Regions from separate parts of the Homo sapiens genome. Here region 2 is linked to region 1. Evidence: promoter capture Hi-C in human tissues and cell types (Jung and others, 2019). All regions are on one chromosome and are shown on one strand. Each heading gives the region's core, a stretch centred on a gene start or on the middle of the fragment in contact. The rest is flanking DNA. Distances are from core to core; before and after follow the strand shown. Region 1 holds the start of L3MBTL4 (L3MBTL histone methyl-lysine binding protein 4). Region 2 overlaps MIR3976HG (MIR3976 host gene).

Region 1 (6,730 bases), core at 3,617-6,116:
GTGTAAAAGTGTTCCTATTTCTCCACATCCTCTCCAGCACCTGTTGTTTCCTGACTTTTTAATGATTGCCATTCTAACTGGTGTGAGATGGTATCTCATTGTGGTTTTGATTTGCATTTCTCTGATGGCCAGTGATGATGAGCATTTTTTCATGTGTTTTTTGGCTGCATAAATGTCTTCTTTTGAGAAGTGTCTGTTCATGTCCTTTGCCCACTTTTTGATGGGGTTGTTTGTTTTTTTCTTGTAAATTTGTTGGAGTTCATTGTAGATTCTGGATATTAGCCGTTTGTCAGATAAGTAGGTTGCGAAAATTTTCTCCCATTTTGTAGGTTGCCTGTTCACTCTGGTGGTAGTTTCTTTTGCTGTGCAGAAGCTCTTTAGTTTAATTAGATCCCATTTGTCAATTTTGTCTTTTGTTGCCATTGCTTTTGGTGTTTTAGACATGAAGTCCTTGCCCATGCCTATTAAACTCCACTTTTATATGTATTGGGAAACCAAAAAATTTGTGTGATTTCCTTCATGCTATATTCATTTTATTGTGGTGGTCTGGAACCAGACTGGTAATATTTCCGAGGTATGTCTGTATTATACTACCTGCTATTTTTAAGAGAATTTGTGTCTAGCTACAGTTAATGGGGGCATATTGCTATTCAAGAATTCCCATCATCAAATTTTCAGGTTTTCTTCTTCCAGATCTTTGACTTTGAGATAGCATGGTTGTACCATCAATAACTATGAAAATAGGATTAAAGAGACTGCTATTTTTCCTTCTGGAGTTTTCATGCCTTTCTTTAAATGCCATTAGCTTATTCGGTATTGGTTGTAGTGGGAAGTGAAGCTTTTTTTTTTTTTATTGACAAGAGGATTCTTATCTTGTTCAGTTTATACAGACTCTAAGCATCATCAGAAAAATTATGTCTATGTTGGATTTTTAAAAATTCAAGGAAGTAGACCTGAAGGGAGTATTTTTAAGCTACTTTTTGATAACTTTGTTCAACTAAAAGAAAGCACAAATGTACAAGTAAGTAGATTTCTATATAGATTTTAAGTCATTTGTTCAAAATCACATAATGTGCATATTATCTTATTTATAAAGCTTTATGATATCATTTATTTAAAATTGGTTTTAGACTGGGCATGGTGGCTCATGTCTGTAATCTCAATACTTTGGGAGGCCAAGGCCGGAGGGTGGCTTGAGGCCAGGATTTCAAGACCAGCCTGGGCAAAACAGTAAGACTCTATCTCTACCAAAGTAAATAAATAAATAAAATTATTTTTAATTATTCAATATAATTTACACTTCTTTCTGAACCAGTATTTACATTTAAATAGTATGCTATGCAATTATTTATACCTCGACCCACTAAAGGAAGCTTAATATTGGACCATCCATGTAGGAAAACACAACTGTAACATAGAAAATTATTAACAGTGGCATTAACATGAAAATAAACTTGATGATAATAGTTGTTGAAGATAGTGACTAATGAAATATTTTTGGTTGCTGTGGAAAATTTGCTTGTCCAAGCAAGTATAGAATTCTGTTAAGATAACTTCTCCTCAGTTATACCAAAGCATATAAAGAAATTCACTCTGTGTTAAATTCTCCCAAATGGTCATATTCAAAATATATGCTAAGAAACAATCTCAAGTCTTAAAAACATATTAAACCCCATCTCTACAAATAGTTTAAAAATTAGCCAGGCATAGTGCTGTACACCTGTGGTCCCAGCTACCCAGGAGGCTGAGGCAGGAGGATCACCTGAGCCCAGAGGTCAAGGCTGCAGTGAGCTGTGGTGGCACCAGTGCACTCCAGCCTGGGTGATAAAGCGAGACCTTGTCTCAAAAAAACACAGAAAAAACCCACACTGCTACCAAGAGCCAATCCTGCTATTGATCAAATAATAAAGCAATGTAATTTAATCCTACTTAGAAAAGAAATATAGGCCAGGCCTTGTGGCTCATGACTGTAATGCCAGCACTTTGGGAGGTTAAGCGGGGAGGATTGCTTGACCCCAGCAATTTGAGACCAGCCTAGGCAATACAGTGAGACCTCCATCGCTACAAAAAAATTTAAAAAATTAGCCAGAAGTGGTGGCACATGCCTGTGGTCCCAGCTTCTCTGGAGGCTGAGGTGGGAGGATCAGTTGAGCTTGGGAGGTGGGGGCTACAGTGAGCCATGATCATACCACTGCACTCTAGCCTGGGTGACAGAGCAAGATCCTGTCTCAAAAAAGAAAAGTAAAGAAAAGAAACATACACAACCAGCCAGAAAAATGTAAACAAGTTTAGCGAAGTTTTTAAAATGGAGAGTTCCTTGGATAAAACCAGTCACTATCTTAGCAGGTGGAAAGTTTCATTTTCATTGACAATAGATGGACACATTATAGGACTGCTGTGCCTGTTATGTTTTGATGACCTCCAGAAAGGGGTTCTCTGTATCATGCCATCAGAAATTTCTATCTTAACAATAAACCATCCTTGTCTATCTGGTCAACTTTGCATTGAGAGTTGGTTGGATTCAACTGAATTATAAAAGTAAAATGCCTAGCAACTACCAATGCTATAAACCCCTTTGCTCATGATGGATCATTAGCAAAGTTATAAAAATCAACAATATGGCTATTTCATTTTAATCTGCAGCCGTTCAGATAAAAGGGATTTACTACAACAGCTTTCAAAAATTTTGTAAGAAGTGTACTAATGCGTTCCTGCTTATATTTCCATAAAATTTGAATAACAGTGTAGTTTAAGACAGATGTCAGCTTCTCTGAACAGAATCATATGTTGTCAGCACTATGCACCTATGCACTTACATTTAAGTAGCTGTAGATGAGGTTTCCTGCCTGTTTCAACTTGTTTCATTGGTGTATCCTTTTCCTTATGTAAACCCAGCCCCTGAAAACAGTGTGTCTGCTTTCATAAACTTAAACCAAATATAGTCAATAAACATGTTATAAAAACAATTGTTTCCCCCCAAGAAGTGAAGATAAGCTGATGTAAATTCACTTTATTTGGATTTCAATCCAGCTTTCTTCTTTGATTTCATATATTATAACATCAATATTCACTTTTCTGAAGGGCTCCTGGAACCAGAAGTGCACTTAACTCTTTCTGTGCTGGGGACATTTTGATATCTCTATTACTAATACCTAGAATCTCCAATGATAAATAAATACCTCTGGGATGGACTGGGGATACACTGCAATAATTGAAGCACTTTATCCTTCACCAAAAATGGTATCCGTGTTCCTGTGAGTAGCAGGGAGGTGGAACTCTCACCTGCTGAGTCCCGTTCTAATTTCATCCAATCTGGTGAACAAGTATCCAACCAAAGGTGGTACCTGCAGGCATGCCCATTGTCACAGTAATGCAACACTGTAAGTCCTTAGCACAATGTTAAAATTGGTTGGAACTGAGTTTCAAATGTTTTCCTCTCGCTACTGAGGTCTTCTACTTCTTTCTTTTTCTCTTTGTCTCTAATATCTTTTTCTTTTTGTTTTTCTTTTTCTTCTTCTTTTTTTTTTTTTTGAGTTGGAGTTTCGCTCTGTTGCCCAGGCTGGAGTGCAGTGGTACTATCTCAGCTCACTGGAGCCTCTGCCTCCCAGGTTCAAGCGATTCTAGTGTCTCAGCCTCCCGAGTAGTTGAGATTACAGGCGCCCGCCACCACACCCAGCTAATTTCGTATTTTTAGTAGAGACAGGGTTTCACCATGTTGGCCAGGCTGGTCTCGAACTCCTGACCTCAAGTGATCCGCCCTCTTCGGCCTCCCAAAGTGCTGGGATTACAGATGTGAGCCGCCATACCTGGCTAATATATTTTTCTTAACTGACTAGAGCACAGAACACAAATCGTGTGTTTGCACTTACAAATTTCTATGATCATTGTTCCTAGTTTAAAAACTTCATTAGCAAAGGGGTTTATATTTCTCTTTTCAGTAAGGACACGAAATTATGTTTCAACAATGCCCAGTCTCACCTAAAAAGCAAGTTTTCATTCTCTGTTTATGGTAGCCCACGACAAACCAAAAAGATCATTTTGGATGGTATCATTGTTAATCCTGCTAAATGATTCAATTTCCTGCTGAAAGCAACAAACTAATACTTATTTAGTACCTACTATTTATTATTTGCATACTAGGGTTTATACACAAGGCGTCCTATGAAAGAACATTTCATTCAAAAGTCACAACATATAGTCTTCAATTATCAGCTACCTTTATTTGTAAGCCAAAATAAATGATTTAATACAGTCCTCCCAAACTGGGAGACAATGCTTTGAGAAAGGCCAAAGCTAGCCAGTAAGGCCATAAGTTCCATGAGGGCAGGATCTACCCAGCTCCTGTTTCCTGCTCAATTCCAAGCAGTTAGAACAGGGTCAGTAAACACTGCTTGCCACTTGGAAAGAGTATTCTTTTATTTGGAAATGGTATCCAGGTACTCGTGAGTAGCAAAGTCAAGAGCAGGAAAGGGGAGTGGGGGAGGTTGCAAAATCGGAGCGAGCAGCAGGACCGAGAGGGATCCGGAGGAGAGAGCCTTCAGACGGTGAACCCCAAGAGCTGGGATGAAGCATGGGTGAGCTACTGGGACTTCGCTGCCAGGGAGCAAGCTGGCAGGCAGGAAGTAGCCAAGATTTGGGGGAATCCTTCCCAGGGAACGAATACAGAGAAGGACGCATCTGAAAATTCCGCCGCAGCCACCTCCCTCCCATGGGAAAGCCCCGACCTCGGCGGGCCCAGCGCCACCCGGCTCCCCGGGGTGTGGAACACTGAGCGAGGCAGGTGCGGCGGGAGCATGCGCGCGGGGCGGGCAGGGGGCGGCTCCCGCGCCCCCACCCCGCGCGTGCACCCTCGCGCCCCTCCCGCCGGGCACCGCGGGGCAGCGGCGCCGCAGCCTGGGCTGGCGGAACCTCGCGCTCCGACTCGCCCCCCGCCTGTAGCTCGGTCGGCGTTGCGGGCAGGCGCCGCTCCGCTGGGGGTAAGAAGGACGCCGCCGCCCGCGTGGGATGGTCGCGAGCCCGCGTGGGTGCCCACGGCCGCCGCCGCGCGGGGTGGCCCCATCCCCGGGCAGGTAGAGGGGCCTGCACGACTCCCGCGGCGAGGGCCGGGCCGGTGGGGGCGGTGGCGGTTGGGGATAGCCCCGGTCCCGGCCCAGGCTCTTTCTCTTTCTCTTTCGCCGCCGGGGCGCGCGCCGGGCTCCCCGCGAGAGGCGCTGCCTCACTTGTCGCCTACTTTGGACGGGCGCGGCCGCCGCAGAGCCCGGCGCCTCGGTCAGCCGCGAGGGCAGGGTCGGGGTGCCAGGCGCGGCTACCTGGGCGCCCTGGAGCCAGCGCAGCCTGGGACCGGGGGAGCGGGACGGGACGGGACTCCTGAGGGCCCCCAGGCAGTCCTCCGGCCATCGAGCGCCCGGCGGTGGGCATTTGGCTTTTGTTTCCTCTGGGGCTAACGCCCCCGTCTGCCCGCGTGTCCCCCTCAGCCGACAAGTGTCGTGTGCCCGGACGGGCGAGCGCTGCCTCCCTCCACCCGCTTTCTGCCCTTGTCTTCCTCTGCGAGTTCTGCCCAGCCTCGGGAGCGGGAGCCCAGGGAGTGCGCGCAGGGCGGGCGGGCGCCTGGCCAGCCTGGGACGGCGGCTCTCAGGCTCCTGCCACCGCCTGGAACTGCGGGGGGCGCGCCGGCCACAGTCGCCCTCGCCTGCTCTCCGGGCCTTCTTGGGCCCGCTTGGTCCCAGGTGGACGCGAGTCGAGCTGGGCACACCTGGGCCAGCGCCGCACTTACCTGCGGGATTGGTGAGAGCGTTTTCGCGAGGTCGCAAATTCCGGGTGGGTATTGTCCCCTGCTTTTGATCTCCCTTAGTCACTGGTTAAAGTGCGAAGTGTGCTTTATCTTACATATGCCTTTAGAGGGACATTCTTAATGCGCCAATGCCCCGAGGTGGAACTAAATAAAGGGAAGGCCTGGTCATTGTTACTGTTGAGACTGCTGTACTTAACAGTCAGAGGAAGGCAGCTGGTCACCACGACCCACTCGGCCATTCCCATGCTGAAGACTCGCTCTCACTTCACACTTGTTTGGACTCCACTATGACTTGCTGGTGGCCCATCTCCTGGATCCTTCTGTTGGAGCTGTTCTAGAAGATGCTTGTGGCAGGCTCCAGTTTCAGTCCTTGGCTGAAATAAGTGTAGTGTGGCTCTTCGGTTTTCTAATCTATTCCACCTAAAAAGGTTAAGGTGACAAACAGGTGGTGGGTACAGTAGAGTTGTTTTTGGCCCTTGGTAATATTAAAAACTTGGAATGCATTCCTTATATTACTACAGAATTAGGAGAAACGGTTGAAAGAGGAGAGGTTTTTTTCTTGGAGTATCCAAAGGGATTGGATTCGACTACACTGACTTGGTGTGTAATGGTTGAGTAGGAAGGAAGATGAACATAAAACTGCTATTAATTATGCTCTTAGATGTGAGGCAACATTGAGGATGTATTGCATGTAACCCTTGACTGCAGAATCACTTAGCACTTTGCTGTACAATATTGGGGTCACAAGAAATGTTCAGCTTGGTTAACCTCTGCAGTGTGCTCTCACTCAGTTTCCAAAGAAAGGGTATTGGTGGGAAGGTGATCTGGTGAAGACAGAGGTAATGAAAGTGAAGGAACTGTGTTAACTTTCACTTTTTAAACATTTTATTTTTATTTTTTAGAGATAGGGTCTCACTCTGTCACCCAGGCTGAAGTGCA
Region 2 (6,002 bases), core at 2,230-4,729, 560 kb after region 1:
AGAAATTAATAAACAGTTATTCAAAGAGGTTGACAAACATAATTGATTGTTGCTGAGTTACACAGATTTTTGAATCAGCATTTTCGAAATTGGAATTAGGTCTTCATAATGTAAATTTGTTTTGACACAGCTGCCATTTCAGATTCAAATGACAGAATTTGGTCTGGAGGAAGCAGCATACACTGTTCAGTTGTTCAACAAGGCGGTACTGATGCCACTGATAACACGGCTTCCTGCGGCAAGTCTTTCTGCCAGTTCACATCAAAATATGCATCTAGCATGACGGAAAAAGTGACCTTTTGGATCCCCAAGTTCATTTTCTTATTGTCTCCTTCTCTCCCTTTTCTCCTCTTGCTGGCTGGCAAAACTACATCTAGATCTTAAGTTTAAACCCCAAAGGGAAGCAAACCATTAAGAATCGAATGGGTGCTTGTCCGAGAATCTTAGGCCCTCCAACATCAGAAATTTACAAGACAGAAAATAAAAGAATGTGCCTTTTCGGTGGGAATAAAGATGGTTTTGTAGTGTATCCTGTGTGCTGGAATAACTAATCTAGTTGAGGTCTTCATAATAAGATGCACCCTTCTATTTTCACTCATCTCAGATATGAATTATTAAAGACTGTCTTATTGTTCCTCTGTAAGTTCTGCATATAATGTAGAACTCATCTTGAAAAAAAGGAAAAACTGGAAGTAACAGAAAGAAAAATAATGCATCTGGAGCTTATGACTCCCGCCCATCGTTAAATCACTTCTTGTACTTTTGTACCAAAACATTTTCCCCATTTTATTTCCATCTTGTGCAGAAGGTAATTACCCTTCAGAGACACCTGCAGGGAGAGGCTACGAGGATGTCTGATAATTTTTAATGTGTTTGTCTCTATATTTTCTTTCCAACATTCTACTAAGTCAAGCACATCTGCTGTAAAGCGTCAGTGGAGGATGACTTCATTAAATGTTAAATACTGTTTTCTGCCTTTACAAGTGTTTGTCCTACACAAAATCCTCAAATGGTAGGGGCAAGCAGGAGGGTCACAAAAATCTTTATGAACCCCAAACTGCCCCTTGCAATAGGCCACCCACTGCGATGCTGTTCGTTTCTTACAAGCGTTAACCACCCGCTGCTTTTCCCAGTAGAACAACTGTTATAATAATATCTCTACATAATCATTTTAATGATAACTTGAGACAATATATTTGTTGACTAGAAACAATCTTTAGGATGTGTAAAACTTATTTGTACCACAGCCGATCATTCAAAATGAAAAAAAAAGTAGACATAAGCCTTATATTGCTTTTCCCAAAATCTATTTCTTTGCCTTTACATATATAATCAGAAATATAGATTTCAATCTATTTTATATTCACTTTGGAATCTTCCCGTTCTATAATTTTAAGCCCTAGGAAAATCTGAGACTGTTAGTTTTCCTTTTAGTGCCATCTGCTGGTCTAGTTATTCTGACTGGGTTCTAGTTTGTTCACTAGAGAAACTCAGGGTTTTCATACAATGAAAAATTTTCACGCAGAAATCTTGCTAAAAGATTTTTATTTCACATGAACCTAATATTTGTTATATTTGAATTTGGAGATCTTTTTTACTTAATCCCCAAAGTTATAATTATCATGACTTAAAGTAATTTTTTATGTGTATCCATATCTATGTTATTTTATATTATATGTTATTACAATGTATTGAGTCTGACAAGCTGACTTTTCTATTTCCCTTGATAGTTACAAAAGTTTGGAAAGTTAACATTAATGTTTAATTACTTAATTTCAAAGAATGAAAATTTAAGGCTACAGAAAAAAATTGATAACTTGAACATTTTATATGATTTCAGTGAACTGTTTCTAACCTCAGAAAAAAACATTTACACTTAACCATATACACTATTAAAAATGTGGGTTTTGAACTGGCGAGTCTTGGATACTTTCTGCATTATCATATTTAGTTATGAGCAATTTTGTTCTGGTTTTCTGTAGTCTATGACTGACACCTACCAAAATCCCAGATGTTCATTTATTGTATTGTTTCAAATAGATGTCTATCCACAATTTGCAATCCATATGGCTTTCCAATAAAGGGTATTTCTCCAGCTCTGTGCTTGCATCCAGATCTGGAGGGTGCCCAGTGGTTTGCTTGCTGTGCCTCTGGCATGTTCACCATCTCAGTGGTTAGCCGAACACTGGAAAACATCCTCTCTTTCCTCTGCTCACTGATGAGATATAATTTATGTTGATTCAACTCTTCACAAATTGCCATCTGTCAGCTTTGTTTTTTCTAATCCCTCATCTCCTTCCTCCATTATAATTGTTCAAACTGGCAGAAGCTCAGGTATTGGCTTAGAGCAAAGGCTCTCTGTCAACAGAGAAGATCTCATTTGAAATCCACACCTCACTCATAAATTGCCTTCTTTTCAATCTTAACTGTGGCAATATTTTCATTTGGTTTCTCATCGTCCTCCGATTCACAGGAAATAAAACAGCAGCACCCACTGACATCTCTGGCTTCTGAGACTGGATTGAGAAGCACTTTGGCATCCATGTCTTCCAAATAATCTGCCTTCCTTGGTATTCTCTGGTCTTGTTTTAGGTTTCCAGGGGCTAGACATATGGAATATTGACAGTGAGAATACCCAGATTCCTGCTTCTTTGTGTGCCTGGGGCACAGATCAATTTTACTGAAGATTTTTGTCCGAAAGGGACTAACTTCTTATTCTTCATATAGATCTTTAAAAAATCTTTCTATAGCCCTGGAATATAGGAAAAGTCATTTAATGCTAATTAGAAAGTAGACAAGCACCATTTAATTAATAAGAATATTAAAACGTGATGAAAATCTTCATGTCAACAGACTAAAATTAAGCATAAGTAAATCTTAATGTTTTCAGAAGTGCTTTCCTTAAGCTGAAATTTCTCAACCTTGACACTACTGACATTTTGGGCCAGACAGTTATTGGTTGCGTGGGTCCTTCTAGTCACCGTGGGATGTTTAGCAACAACCCTGGCTTCTATCTACTGGCTCCTGCTAGTATCCCTGTCGCCCAGGTTGTGACAACCAAGAATGTCCCCAGACATTGCCAGATATCCCTTGGGAGATAAAAGTTACCCCTCCAACTGAGAAACAAAATCATTATATATGAACATTAATGAAAGAAAAATACTAAAATATGAGCGATTATCCAGAAGTCCAGGTGGTTTTGTTTAGCTTTCAAATGACCACACTGTAAGAGCAATGTCAAAGGAATTAAAACATGACACAAAAATACAGAATTTCAAAGGAGAGAGGAATATAAAAATATTTATTCCAGAAATGAAGAGCTAGGATGTAGCTCATGACCACAGACTGTGGACATCTTCCCAGCAAAACGTGAGGCCCGAACACAGGACTCATTAGTCAAATATTCTAACAGAGATGTTTCCAATGACGTTATTTTTTATTTTATAAGAAATCAGAAACCTGTGAAAACTTGTGATGTATTGCTGTTAGTGGCAAACTGCTTTTAAAACCACTGATCTGATGCATACAATCTGAGTGATAAAAGAAGGAAAAGTCTCTAATGGGTTATGTTAATGTCATGGTTCTTGGCCACAAGCCTTCCGAACACACCCTCATCGATGACCTGTCTATACTTGAGTTTTATGCATTTCCTGGAAGCAGAGTCCCTATGCTCCAAGTATGCACCAGATTATCTGGCAGCTTGTTACAGTGTTCAGCCTGATCCCCATTAAGCATGGGAGTCATACATTTGTAGTTCTGAGGAAGCTTTTCCGATGGACATGTTAATACATACCATGGCATTCTATTATAGCAAGTTTCCTTACTTCATGCAGTTGGATGTACCATGAGCTAAATCATGCCCTTGAAATATAAAATCTCATGCGATACAAATTTGATATAACATGGTTAGTTCTGAAATAGAAGTGTTAGGTCCAACCCAAATCCTTGCCTTATAAAGGAATTACATTTTAAACAATCATTCATACTGTATCATATCTACCACTTAAACTAGTGTCTGACTTTGTAGTTTAGGGCTAATGGAATCAATCATGCCCATTATGGTTGGTGGAGACAATATCTTAGAGCAGTTAAAACAATGGGTGACCTGACTTTGCTTACCTGTTTCTGCATCTATAAAATGGAGGATAATAATAGTTCCTGTGCCTCCTAGGTTTGTTATGAGGGTTAAATGAGATACTAGATATGAAACGTATAGTTCTGTATCTGGCATGTAGTAGTAAAGGCTCAATAGTTCTTAGCCACTAGTACTTTATTTAATTACATAATAAATATTTTTATGGAGGCCACCAGGTGACTGTGATAGTCTCTTTTACTCCAAATACTTCAATAGGTAACCTATTGAAGTAGAACTAGGGAAATTAACACCTAAAAAAAGTGGTTAGCCTTCTTAGAAGTAACCCAAGACATTTTGAGTGCTTGGTAGAAGAGATTGGCAAACTCTTAGGTAAAGTAACTGAAATTTTATAGAGAAATGTAGGACCAATATATTATATCCTAGCATACAACCAACAGGACATCGAAAGTCATCTTGGGATATTTAAAACAATTTAAGAAGGAGAAGGAGGTGAAACAGCAAGGATTTCAGTTTCTTTCCAACAGTGACGAGGGTCTTAACAAGCAGCTGTACCATTTCTGATCCCTGTGGTGGGTAGATGGTGGAAGCTGCCACACTGGACTATCACAGCTGAATTGCTGGATTGCTAAGATATGCTGCTGCTCTGATTCCTGCTTGCCAAAACCACCTTCTGAGAATCATTTGACTTCCCTTGTAGACTTCCCACTGGGACAATATGTCCTGGCATACACACATTGATGTTGTGGTCCACCTGGAAGTTATAGGGCTCACTGTAAATGACACCTTTGCATGCTTTGGGGGTCTGGTAAGTCTGTGACAGTTCAGAAAATGCCTCAAGAATGAGAAGCAGCACAGGACATGCAAAGCTAAGAACTCGGTCTCTGAAGATTGATCTGACCACAGGCGTTTGTACAGAACAACGTACTTTAAGTGATCTCTAGCTCAGTGATCTCAATATCTCTTCAATGCCTGAATACTTTGCTCTTTGCCACTCACTCAATGTGGGAACTGAGTCTGTTAGTCTTACTGGTAACTATAATCATTGACAGAGTGAGGATTCTAGGCTTCTGAACATGGTCAGCCCTCTCCCTTAAACAGTGAGAAACTGAGCAGCAATTTAATTATTAAACATGTATACATACATCTATAAAATTCACTGCATTATAGAATTATGAGAAAATTGTCTTCTATCTTTGGAGGGTGAAAGGCCCTAGGAGAAGTATCTAAAAATATCTCAAAGATATTTCTAAAGAAAAAATTTAATGCACTGAATACCTATAAAAAGAAAGTCAATTGTTAAGTGTTAGATAAATTTTTTAAAAAGCTTAGCACAAAAGAGGTAGCAGATGGCATAAAAATATTTTGAATGTCTTGATACTTATAAAGGTAATATGAAATAGAAATGTAAGAATTATTAGCTATTAGTCCAGGAAAACTGTTCAAATACCACTACATGGTGTACCATCATTAGGAACTTCCATAAAGGTTTGAGATTTGGGCTGGCAATCTTTCTTGTCACATAACTGCCACTACTTTCCAGAAGCTTATGCCCTACAGTGTAGTTTGGCATTCTATTACATGTCTGTTGGGTCACACTAGTGAAGAAGGAAAGAAAAGAAGGAAGGAAGGAAGGAAGGTCATTATTGGGGGGTAAAAAACCAACACAAACTTGTATGTTCACTGGTGGCCAAAAACAGGGTCAAAATGACCTATTCCACAGGTCAAAGAGCATTTGTCTCAAGACTATGAGGTGAAAGGAGTGTGTGTGTGTGTGTGTGTGTGTGTGTGTGTGTGTGTGTTTTGGGATGGGAGACTGTGACTTGATGTTCTTCTGAAGGTTGTTTGGTACCTCAATTTTTTTATAAAATATGCCAAGCCTGTAAACTAGGACATCTTAGCCAAGGGG

Evidence for each region. Contacts are between HindIII fragments. The study calls those that stand out against the background at their distance.
Region 2: a fragment that was not itself captured here is called in contact with the fragment with the promoter of L3MBTL4 in region 1 in 1 of the 25 tissues and cell types used here (dorsolateral prefrontal cortex).

The regions. Positions count from the first base shown.
Region 1 is chr18:6,413,047-6,419,776 of GRCh38, reverse strand. L3MBTL4 (L3MBTL histone methyl-lysine binding protein 4) reads left to right here and starts at 4,866. Exons shown (of 19, transcript NM_001330559.2): 1 at 4,866-4,976. RefSeq lists a silencer at 4,824-5,363. The HindIII fragment of the contact is 7,728 bases long and covers 1-6,730 here.
Region 2 is chr18:5,847,652-5,853,653 of GRCh38, reverse strand. The region is part of intron 4 of MIR3976HG (MIR3976 host gene); the gene reads right to left. Among named protein-coding and RNA genes, the nearest start is that of MIR3976, 10 kb to the right of the region's middle. The HindIII fragment of the contact is 4,810 bases long and covers 1,075-5,884 here.